Linked DNA regions of Homo sapiens: region 1 is linked to region 2. The links are contacts of gene promoters, found by promoter capture Hi-C in human tissues and cell types (Jung and others, 2019). All regions are on one chromosome and are shown on one strand. The core of a region is centred on a gene start or on the middle of the fragment in contact, and the rest is flanking DNA. Distances in the headings are between cores, read along the strand shown. Region 1 overlaps TMEM108 (transmembrane protein 108). Region 2 holds the start of TMEM108 (transmembrane protein 108).

What was found. The method cuts DNA at HindIII sites, captures the fragments that hold promoters and counts their contacts. A contact is called where the count stands out against the background at its distance.
Region 1: a fragment that was not itself captured here is called in contact with the fragment with the promoter of TMEM108 in region 2 in 1 of the 25 tissues and cell types used here (aorta).

Annotation. Positions count from the first base shown.
Region 1 is chr3:133,075,219-133,081,184 of GRCh38, forward strand. All of the region lies in intron 2 of TMEM108 (transmembrane protein 108), which reads left to right. Among named protein-coding and RNA genes, the nearest start is that of TMEM108, 40 kb to the left of the region's middle. The HindIII fragment of the contact is 3,118 bases long and covers 2,557-5,674 here.
Region 2 is chr3:133,036,871-133,042,981 of GRCh38, forward strand. It overlaps TMEM108 (transmembrane protein 108), which reads left to right and starts at 1,521. Exons shown (of 6, transcript NM_023943.4): 1 at 1,521-1,565. RefSeq lists enhancers at 1,215-1,509, 4,395-4,689. The HindIII fragment of the contact is 13,936 bases long and covers 1-6,111 here.

The sequences.
Region 1 (5,966 bases), core at 2,866-5,365, 41 kb after region 2:
ACATTCCTCTGGGATATATACAAGGGAGTCAAATTGCTGGGTCATACTTAATTTAACTAAGTAGTATTGGATTGCTCTCCAGGATAGCTCTACCAGACTTCGCTCTACTAGCAGTTCTTGGGGGTTACTGTTTCCCCAACACTCCACCAATGCTTGGCATTATCCAGCTTCCTAATTTTTGCTAGGCAAATAAGCACAAAATGAAGTCTTGGGGGATTTTTTGGCCATTTCTTTGATCACCAGTGATTTAACATTTCTTACTATTTTGCTGTGATTTCTAGCAAGTGAAAACAACCCTACTGAATAGTAATCCTAACCCTCAAGAAGTCCAGACCATCACTAGTTTTCTGTTGTTGTCCTTCATCACTCCTCCTCCTTAGCACATCCCCGTGGCTTTTCCTTCTCTGCTGTAATCCCTCCTCCCTTGCACCTATCCTTTTTATCTTTTTGATAATATCCATTCTAACAGGTGTGAGGTGATATCTTATTGTGGTTTTGATCTGCCTTTCCTGGGAAAATATCAGAAAAGATCCCTGGGGAAAGATCAGAAGCTATTTCGCCCATCCTGTGTTTTGTTGCTGTGGGAAACAAGGAGATTCTCCTGCTTTGTGCCAGCAGTGAATCAAATAAGAAGTAGTAGATAATTTGAAGGGTGAGGACAAAGACAGGAGGCCACAAGCAAGTGATGTTCCTTTAAAACACAGCATTCAAGGAGAAGCAAGTGAGTGAGGCTGAAAGAGTGAGGAAAGATTGCTAGGTAAGGGGTCAGGTGGTATCTGGAGACCACCAAGGTCCAAAAGAAGGAGGAGATGATCCACAAAGGAATGTGGTGCTGAGTAATGTGGGGACCCTCGAGATTTGGGTAAGGAGGAAGGCAGGAGGAGGATTTAAGGGTCTAGATTTTTAAATACATGTACTTTTAATAAGTCCAAACTCATCAACATATATACATTAAATGTGGGCAAATTTTTTTATCAGTTATGCTTTGATAAAACTAAAAAATAAGGAACTTTTCCATAAAAGTAGGTCGTGACCCTAATAATAGTAATAATAACCCCTTCTGTGTGTCTGTTTCACAGTTTAACATTCTGCTTGCACTTCGAGGAGTCAAGGATGCCACTGCCTCATTATGCATGTAAAGAGACCGTGATATAGATGGGAAAAAAGACTTCCTCGAGGTCTTTTGGAAGTTGAGATTGGAACTTGGGTCTCAAAGCCCAAGTCGCTTACTGCTTATTTCTGTAACATGATGTTGGAGATTGGGCAGGACTGCTTGGGAGAAGCAATTGACTATAACAGAAGGGCAGAAAGGAGATAAAAGGAAGAGAAAAATTGCAGATGCAGTATGTGTAATAAAAAGTAAGCTACTCTGCCCTTAAAGTTTATGTCCTATAATCTTCCACTTTAAATTATTCTCTCAGATTTTTCTAGTGTAAATAGGTTGAGAATATTAGAACTGATTACCTTTTCAGTTCTATTGCCCAGCCATCCTCATTTGGCCAAAGGCCAACAGACAGTTTTCTGGGTTGAGATGTAGGAAGGCTTTGGCAATGGGCAGCAGTCTTTCTTAGCCCGTCTTTGCCATGGGGCTCAGTCTCTTTGGGTTGCGCCACCTTTACAGGTTAGCTGGAGTCAAGCTTAGGTCACATACGGGGATCCAGATCTGTGGATAAGCCAACGAAAGGAAGAGAAATCAAGTGCAAGGCCAAGAAATCAGAATTCAGTTACCACATCAAAGCCAGAATGACAGCACTCTGAGCTGGGAGGGCTGGGGCACTGCCTCAGTTCCTCACATGAGATAGTCATGCTAGAGCCCAAGAAGCAGATAGATCCAAGGCAAAGAGACAAGGACTTGGGAGGGCAAGGCTCCAGTTGTTTCTCATTCTTTGTCTGGCTGAGCCAGTCAAAGACTCAGACAAAGGGCAAGAGAAGTAAGCAAGTGGGTACCTGGCCGTTTGGGGCTGTGCTGGCGGTGAGCAGAGGAGGCAGCCGATGTTTTATAAATTGTTGCAAACAATACTCCTAAAGTCTTGGGCTTTATTTTTGCAGAGAGGAAAAAGGGCCCATTTAATTGTGCTTTGTTATTCTCCTACTCATATTTTTTTCTCTTTTATTGTAGTGATGGCAGTGGTGTTCAGCCAGGAGCAAGTTATATGAGGTAGGGTTCTGCCCAGGGGAGGTGCCAGGGGCAGGCGGTGAGATAGGGCGTCCAGGCTACCTGGGTGTCTGCAGAGCACCCTGGAACACCCATTTCAGTGAGTTGTCTGACCCAGGAAGGTCAGCACTCTGCTCTCCCCACTTTGTTCTTGGGGTGAAGGATGGATCTTGTGAAATCCTGAGCAAGAACAAAGGCTGACTTTATCCCTAGGAGGGATATTTGGGTCACTTTTCCTCTCTGAAGACTACTTCCACAGTTCTCAAAGTGAGAAGGCAGAAATGAAAGCACTTTCCCTTTTCTGTTTGTGCCCCTAAATTCCCCTGCACCTTCAGTCTTCCTTTGGCCAGGTAACTTCCTTTTGAGTTGGCTAGCTTCCTCTGCCTGCTGCTTAGGGATACAGGAGAGATGGTCCATTCGAGAAAGGACTCTAATCTTTGTCTTTTGTGTATAGAGTAAATAGGTACTTGGCCAGGATTCCCTGAGCTCTTGCTCCCAGGCTGACTCGTTTGCCTGTGTTCTGAGGAAACAGGCAGAGTGTGTCTTCCCAGGACAGCCCGGGGGCATTCAGAGTGATCACCCCAGATGCTGCCAGGTTTTTGTGTGTCTTCCAAACTAAGACTTTTATACAAACTAAAATTAGCCTTTGAGGATAGAGAACTCCCTAAATGGAAACATGTAGCAAAGTGGATGGAGGGATGGCAAAATGGGGCAAGGCTGTCTCACCTGCATGTTTTGGCGAAAAATGGTGGAGTTTATGGAGCTCAGTGTGTGTGTGTGTGTGTGCACGCGCGCGCGCGCACACGTGTGTGTGTATATCTCAGATCTTTGTTTTTAGTGACTCACATATGTGCTCCTGAGTTGCTTTTTGTGGACGACAGGGCATATACCTCCCTATTCTTCTCAGTCCTTTCGGACATGCACTCATTTTATATCACCTCAGGGATGGCTCCAGCCTTCCTACCCAATTCTTAAGTATTAGAAGACAGGTTACTCCCAAACAACTAGGCGGTGTCTGATACCCTTGTGGCAATCAAGTGATGCTCTACAAAGCTGCTTTGTAGAGCTGACCTGAGTGGCTAGGGTCTTTGTAGAGATGAGCTGAGTGGCTAGGGTTAGATTAAGGCTTGGAGGGGTCCAAGAAAAATGAACAAGTTACAAGGCTGTAACCCTCTGAAAGGCCACAGAATTATTAGTGATATTTTGAGTTTTAATTATTGATAGCAACTCAGTAATTTAAGTAGTTAATCAACTCAAGAATAAATACAACTTAGCAGGAAGTAATTAAAAAATTGAGATGTTTAACTGGAGGAGTTTTAAGCTTTGAAGTTATCTATTCAGTCAGAATAGTTGCACAAAATACCAAATTATTCATTTACTAAATATGAAATGTTTTTTTCTTTCTCTTTCCCTCTCTGATGCACACACACATATATTTTATCATAGTTGGATCTTGTAGGAAAAAGACTTTGAAGGGACTGATCATTTTCAAATCATTTATCCAGCGAATAGATATTGACATATTATTTTGCATGTTATTCTCTGCTCAAAACTGTAAGGGTGTTAAGATGCTTAAAACATGATTGCTGCCTTTCAGAAACTTTCAGCCATTAAATTGAGAAGAGAAGACAAACTTGCAAAATATAATAATAGTTATATAAATATTGAATTCAGCGAGAAGTGCCGGTGGTATATAATTAGGTTCTAGAAGAATGGATCAGATAGCTGTGACTTACGAAGGGGAAGACATAATTGCTGACTGCATTTTACTAAACCATTTATTTCCTCCTGGATTTGTTCCCTGTGTGTAAAGAGGGGCCTTCAACCCTGGTCAGGTGAGATGGAATATGCAATGCATATACATTTATCTGGAACTTTGTCCAGAGAATGGGTCTTTCAAAAAACAGAGTTACATAAATCCTCTCAGTGATTCTTTGGGGATTGTTGAGATGTTCGTCATTATCTTTATTTTGCAGGTGCCTTAGTCCGTTTGGGTTGCTATACCAGAATAATATAGACTAGGTGGCTTGTAAACAACAGAAATGGATTTCTTACAGTTGTGTAGGCTGGAAGTCCAAGATCAAGGTGGCAAGCTGATTCAATATCTGATGAGGGTCCGCTTCTGGTTTACAGGTAGCCATCTACTTTCTTTGTCCTCACGTGGCAGAAAGGAGCAAAGGTCCTCTCTGGAGTCCCTCTTACAAGGGCACTCATCCCATTCTTGAGAGTTCATGATCTAATCATGTCTGAAAGGCCCTATGTCCAGGTACCATCACATTAGGATTAGGTTCAGCATGTGAATTTTGGGAGGACACAAACATTCTGTTTATGGCAGCAGGTAAGGAACTGCAGGTCAGAAGGGCCCCAGCAAAGTATCATTCTGAAATGAATGACAGATGGGACAGGCACGAAGCTTGAAAGCGAGGAATAAGGGTGTGTCTTGCTTGACTGTGACCGTCTTGCTTACCTGCTGAGGCAGAGGTGCTAGGTATGCCTTCTCTTCAAGGCAGGGCCTCATCATGTAAAGGAGCTTCTGGGTGGAGGCTGAGTGCTTTCTCTATATAGCCAGAGGCCTCACTCCAATGCTTGGGGTGTGAGATCTAAGTTTTGCACAGATGTCTTCTTGCTACAGGCCAAGGCCACAATTAGGGGGAATGGACTCTTTCCACATACTTACTTGTCATCTCGTCCAAGGTAGATGCTTGATAAAATAGTGCTGTATGCTAAAGTGAGCTGCCTAAGCTTCCCTACACATGAAAAAGAAGCCTAGAGGAGAGCACAGATGGGGGACCGTTCAACTGCATTCCCAAGAGCATTATCCCTAACAGGGATAATGGCAGGATGTCCACTGTCTGCGGCCCCTTCTTTTGCCATTCTTTTACATTCATTGCTGTAGAGGGTATAAATAGGAATAAGGAACTGATGGCTATGTGAAGGTGAATTTCAAACTCTTTGAGTTGTGATTAACTTCCAGAGGCCTCAAAATAACTGATTTACATAAAGTATGATGCAGAAACTAAGCCACTCATTTACATCTTCACCATATTTTTTGCATGTAAGGACATATGTTGGTTACCTTTGGTCTTGACAATAACTTCAAGGAAGGAATGCTTTGTCTAATCCTTGTTCCTTCTTCAAGGCCCAACTCAAACACTTTCTCCCCTGGAATCCTTCCCAGAGCTCTTTAGTCAGAATTAATGATCCTATATACCTTTCCATAGCTCTTTGTTCATATCTCTTCACATATTTGGTTATTCACATGTGTGTTCATTTCCTTCATTCAACTCATATATTGTTTTTTTTTACACTCAGAAGCTGAAATTAGTAGACACTTAGTGCTACATGCTGATTGTAAAGTGTATATCTAGAGGAAAGCCAGTACAGTTCAATGTACCCAGTGTGAAGTACTTTCATCCTAGTACTTAATATTTGGATATTTTCTCCATTTTTTTTAAATACTAGGACTTGCGTGAATGAAAGCTTAGTCTCTAGATAGACACAAGTAGGGTCTCTTCACATGAAAAAGGAACTCATCCTCTTCCCCTTTAGCTCCTTAAAGCTTCTCCTCTGGGTGGCAGAGTCGTTTGATGAAAGGAACATGAACTTTAAGCTGACCAGATGGGTGATCTTGGGTAAGTTATTCTTATCTTTCCACATAACAACTTCTCGGATATAAAATGTGGATAATTACAGTTTCCTTGAACAGTTCCATAGCACAGTGTCGTCACTTCTCATGCCTTCATCCATACCTTCATCATTTCTCATCTGGACGTTTCACTGGAAGATGACTGTCCTAGCTCAGGCTGCCATC
Region 2 (6,111 bases), core at 271-2,770:
GCAAACAAACTTTTTTTGAGGCTTTCAAAACATTTTTCTTGCTTAGACATTTCTTTACTCCTGCTGTAGCCAGAACCATTGCTGTGACAGGTTTAACATGTTCCCAGAAACTCTGAATTTTGTGCGATGCCATCTCTGATAGGGACAATGTGATGAACAATGTCTGAGATTGCTAGGTGGGCTTCACTTCTGGGGATGAGAAGCCAGAGAAGTTCAGGACACACTGACAAAGGTGAAGTTTTCTCTAAGCGACAGTTTGATCACCTTGATAGTGAGAGAGAAATGCTGAAGCAGGGTTATACCACCTGGTTTCAAGAGATGAGAGATGAAGGTTTTGGAGAATTCAGCACTTAAGAATCTTGAACCACGGCGGTACACTACTGGGTAATAAGAGCTTGGCTACGCTGAACGACAAAGGTTCTAGCTGGCCAGTCCGAAAACACTGAGTCCTTAGGTCAAATTTGAGAAATGACAGGGCCAGTGGGAGTCCTAACTTCTAGACTCTGGAATTACTGACAGAAGAATATTTGGACAGTTTTTAAGACCCTCAAGGCATATTATTTTACAACCTCTTTAGCTTATGCCTGAATTTGTGCTGTGACTGTTAGCTTCCCGGATGTTTTCTCCACATGCTTCTTTCTGAACTAGCCTGTATAGTTCTACAACAAATTGTTACGTTTTGAGAAGCAGGGACCACTTATACCACTTCTCTGGCCAAGTGTCTGGCACCGCGCCACTCAGACACACACGCCCAACCCTTTAGGATTAACGTAGACACAGTGTTCTCTTCCATGGCCATTCCGTCTCCACTTCTGGTTCCACACTCCAGTCACCAAGTTGGCATGATTGCTGCTCCATAGACCAAGGGTGGGTAATGTGGGGATTAAACACACCTTCCCTCAGCTGGTGCCCAAACTGTAAGCATCACCGGGACACCCCATGTAGCCACAGGAACGCTTCTCATCAGTGGAAGAAGGACAAGAAAGGTCGTGCAAGTTTCAAATTACGTGGAGCTGGGGCTACAGCCATTACTTTCGGACAGGTGCAATTCAAAGCGTGATCCTCCGACCAAGAGCTTCGTCATCGCCACCTGGGAGCTTATTAGAAATGCAGGATCTCAGGTCTCCACCCCAGACCTTCTGGATCAGAATCCGCATTTTAACAAGAGAGTCAAGTGATTCTTATTTATATTAGAATTTGAGAAGTCAATTGATCTGGTAATTGATCAACTGAGTGCCACTTAGCCCCCGAAAACAGAGACCCTTTGTGCCCGCCTCGCACCCGCTCTGCTAGGTAGCAACCGAACCCCCAGAGACATCGGAGCGGGCGCTGCCGAGGGCAATTTGGTGATTGGCTGGTCTCACCACGTGACCGGCGCTGAGCCTTCCGTGCGACCGGATTGGCTGTCGCGGACGCTGACGGACAAGGCCGGGGCGGGCCAGAGCCTGGTCGGAGGGGCGCGCGCGGGGGCCCGAGGGGCGAAGGCGCGAGTGCGCGAGAGCGCGTGCGCGAGCGGTGGGGCTTTCTCCTGAGCCGTCGGAGGGAGCCGGAGCGCTTCTCCCGAGGTAAGCGGCGCTCCGGGGCGTCCCCCCAGTCCTTCCCATGCTGGGTCCCGGCAAGCGGGTTAGGCTGGGCTGGGCGGGGCTCGGGGAGGTGTGGGGTCAGCTTGCCCCGGGAGCCCAGCTTCAGGGAGGATGCAGCCCCGGTTGCCTTGGTTTCCCTTTTCCTATCCTCTCAGGCACCTTCCCATCCTCCCCACTGCGTGACGGGTCTGCCCGAGGGGAGTTGCCCACCTGGCAGCCCTGCCTCCGCCTTTGTTTCCCGCCTGGAGGGTTGCTGGCATGAACCCCCTCCCCAGGTGGAGGGTGCGGGTGATGGGGCGCGGGCGTCAGGAGCGCTGGACCTGGGCTGGGGCCGAGGAGGAGGTGGCTTTAATGCAGGGGGACCTGTCACATGGGGAAACGAAGAAGAAGAAATGTAGTGTCACTTTGGCCAGCCCGAGGGACTCGAACTAATCCTGCGGCCGCGAGCGGAGCCGAATTCCTAGCGCAGCTGTGCGAAGAGCCCTCCTGCCTAGGTGCCGGCGGCCTCGCCGGGGACGGAGCCTCCGTGCTGCCCGGGAGGTTGCTCTGCCGGCTGGACCTGGCGGTTTTCACCCCAGAGTTGCAGCGAAATTGAACGCTTTGAGCCTGCTGGAGGAATCCAGAGATTGGTTCAGGGGCTATTTTTTTTTTTAAGCAGTTGGGCACCGGTGGAGCCGGTCTAAATGAAAGTCTACAAAAACCAATTTCAGATGCAGCGTAACTGATGACTGGTAAATGGTGAGGAGGGAAATGCCTGCAGTGAACTGCAGACCACCACACTGAGATTCTTCCTTAAGAAGATAGGGGTTTTTTTCGGAGGAAAGGTTGTAGTTTCTGCAAACAGGTTTTTCTGGGGGTACCCAGGAAGGTTATTACTTATTTTCAGCATGTTACTGGGTTGTGGGGAGAGGGAAGGCAGGGTCTAAACTAAACCTACTCACACGTCCTTAATTCTTTGAAAAGTGTGTGCTCGATGAAGACCATTTGGCTGCCAAAAGAGGTTTGTATGGGAGTCCGGGGGAGATGGATTGTTGCCTTTAAATCATACTTTAAAAAGGGGAAGGTATGTCCAGGAACTTAAGAGCAGGTCAAGCTATGGAAAGTATTCCCTGCCTCTCCTCCATTTCCCCAGACAGCTCATAGGCAAACATAAAAAGTCCCTTCAATTTTCCACGGGTTAACTTCTTGATTTGTTGGATACACCTGGTAATCTACTCTGTAAGAAATGGTTCAACTAACTCATTATGAAGATATTACTGTGTTCTGGACTTTCCACGTAATTTATTCAGAACTCTTTCTGGTATGAGATGGATAAGGGTCTCTCTACCTTGTCCCTTGGAGACATCCTGATACCTTCAAAGCCCTTTATAGCTCTTACATTCCCTGTACAACAACATGTTTCTTTAGGAAATGACCTGATTTCAAACCTCTAAAACACACCCCATGCCTGTGAAATGCCTACACTTGCCAAGAATTCAGTTTACTAGGCAAGATAAATATATTTTTTTAAGAGGGAACACCTAAATTTGTTAGGGGTATCAAATTCAGGTTTATCAGCCACCGGAAATCAAATTTTGTCGGTTTTCTGAGATGAATGAAAGTAAAAGAACAAGTTGCTGCAAAGCTCATTTAGAATATCACAAATGACCCTAGTAAAGTGAAATATAGGTTGTCACCTGATAGACTTCACACAAACCAAATTAGTGGGAATAATTTAAAAACTTTATCACAGTTTTTTTTGTTTGTTTGTTTGTTTTTTTTTTTTTTTGAGACGGAGTCTCCGTCTGTCACCCAGGCTGGAGTGCAGTGGTGCGATCTCGGCTCACTGTAACCTCCGTCTCCTGGATTCAAACGATTCTCCTGCCTCAGCCTCCCGAGTAGCTGGGATTACAGGTGTGAGGCACCATGCCCGGCTAATTTTTGTATTTTTTAGTAAAGACGGGGTTTCACCAGATTGGCCAGGCTGGTCTTGAACTCCTGACCTCGTGATCCACCTGCCTCAGCCTCCCAAAGTGCTGGGATTACAGGCATGAGCCACCATGCCGGCCAGAAAATTTTTTTTTTTAAGTGGCATGGAGTAGAGGGGAGAAAAGAATGCTGAGGGTGAGGTAGGTGGCATAGTATACACTTTTATTTTCAGAGGAGAGAAATTAATCTTTGTTCCATAAACCGCAAAGGGTATGCATTGTTTGTTTGGCCTGCGGAAGGGAGGCAGGGATTTTGAAAAGGTTGGGAAACACTGATTAGGTTATGCAAGGGACAACAAAAAGATTAACAAGCTTAGTCCATCTAGCAACGTACTTCAGTGACCTATAGGACAAGGTTTTATTCTCTGATTCAATAAAAGCCCACTAGTGTTGCTTTCAAAGCAGCAACAAAATCATTTCCTTTCTGTCGTTTCTGTCCCCTGGGTCAGGGACGGGGAACATAGAGAGTGAATGAGAGAGATTAGAGTCCGACCTGCATGCCTAAGCAGTAGTGTCCTCTGAGGAGGATCTGTGTCACATTGTGTAAGTATAAGAGCCTTCATATTGAGAGGGATCTGAGTACCTTCCTTAGGACACATGCTGTAAGATACAGCTGGATAACAGAGCCACAGGTGGGGGCACTGGGTGAGATCATCTGATAGGGAAGCATTGGGGAAAGAGGAGAGCCAGGAAATGTTTAATTCAGTGGGGCTCTGCTGGCTGCTTTTGGATCCTTGAGGAGGCATTTCAAGGCAGAGCTGCCTCATTGGCTAGCCTGGCTGGCTTTATGTGGCTTCCAGAGGACCTGCCATTCACAAGATGAAAGCTCCTGTGGTAGTTACACGTCTCAGGTTGTAAGCATCAGTTATGCTTGTAATGTGCTTGAGAAAAGAAGGGCTCACAGAGACCTAAATCTAGGCTGCCGTTCCTTCACTTGGCTCATGTCACCCCCCAGGGCTCCCAGAAAACAAGTTGTACCCTCCTTACCAGTAGATGGCACTGCTGCCCCTGGGAATTCCTGGAGGAGCTGAACTATGGAGCTGGCAAACCAGCAGTGTGTAGCCTCTAGTCAGAAGATTTTGAAAGGCTATGTCAGCCCTCAAACGAAATCTCAAAGAAAATAGTTCTGAAAGCCATAACTGTTTACATAAGGTAGGAATAACGTGTGTCATGGGGATTGAGGAATGGCTGTGATTACATTGACTGTACATGTGCGTTTCTGAAGGGAGAAGGCAGAGAGTAAACTGACAAGCATCATAGCATAGGCTTTAAACGCACCCGGCATATGTATTGGTTAATTAAACATAATAATCATGATTTGATCCAACTTTCCAACAACTTAATCGTTTCTAATTATTTGCATGTGAAGCTAGTCTACACACATGGATGGGACTATGGAAATATACATGTGACTTTTAAACCTGAACAGTAGCTGGTAAGTACATGCTCTGAAGACAGCAGTGAGAGTATTAGTAAAAATAATGCTGATAAAGTAGTCACTATATTTCAGGGCTGTCCACAGAAGATAGGTCAAAACAATTCTTAATTCGTTTCTTCTAAAACTTGAAAATTCCTAATGTGTTTTTAGATCTTCTTAGTTAATGTGGACCTTTCAATATTATATTAGCAGCCCCAAACTTGTGCTTTGGTTTTAATGATGTTATTAGTCAGGGTTAATTCATCCATCCACCTATTTTGAAATAACTATTCTTTGTTCTCTAGCTGTTATTTACTGTTCTTTGAGATGGGAAGGTTATAGTGTATAATGAGGGCCCCGGCTTTGACTCTGCCTGAGGTATAGGATGCTACCTCTAGGTGCAATTACCCCAGTCACCTGCTGCTTTGTGTAGTTCCCATCCTATGGCTTAGGTTATTTGAGGTTTCTTTCTGTCTCTCAAGTGAACTGATGAGCTTGTCTTTACTACCAATGCTAAATACTAAAATCCTGCTTGTGCTAGGTAGTGGTAGGCCAACAGTCCATTAATGCCATCTTATTATGTGACTAAAAATAAATCTATTCACCTTTCTGAACCTTACTTTTATCACCTGAGATTGATGAGATGGTGGATGTCTCTTAAAATCTCTTCCAAGTCTAAAGTTATATGGTTAGGTGATTCTCATAAGTTATTTCTGAAGACTAAAAATTATTTATAAAATATTTTCATACTGTGAGCTTAGGGCAAAAAGAAGTCTTGCTAATGTTTCCTCCCAGAAAAGTGGTTGTGCATTACCTTAGGATCCTAACAGTTCAGAGTAGGAAGAAACTCTTGAAGATGATTTAACTTAACCTTCTCAATTTATAGACAGCTCAGTTCAGAGTTGAGTTTCTTGACCAAGGTAACAGAGCTAGTTAGTGGCAGAGAACTAGTTAGAGGACTAGGATGCAAGCTCAGGACTCAATATAGTTTTCCCTTCTCCAATGCTGCTTTATTTCATCTGCCATCAGGCCACAGAATATGCTGTGTCTACAGGGCTGGGGCCAAGAAAATTTTCTGAGTAATTCCTTAATGTAGGGCTTTAAAGCAACAGCATGAATAGCTTTGAGTTTTGGCAGAAGTTCA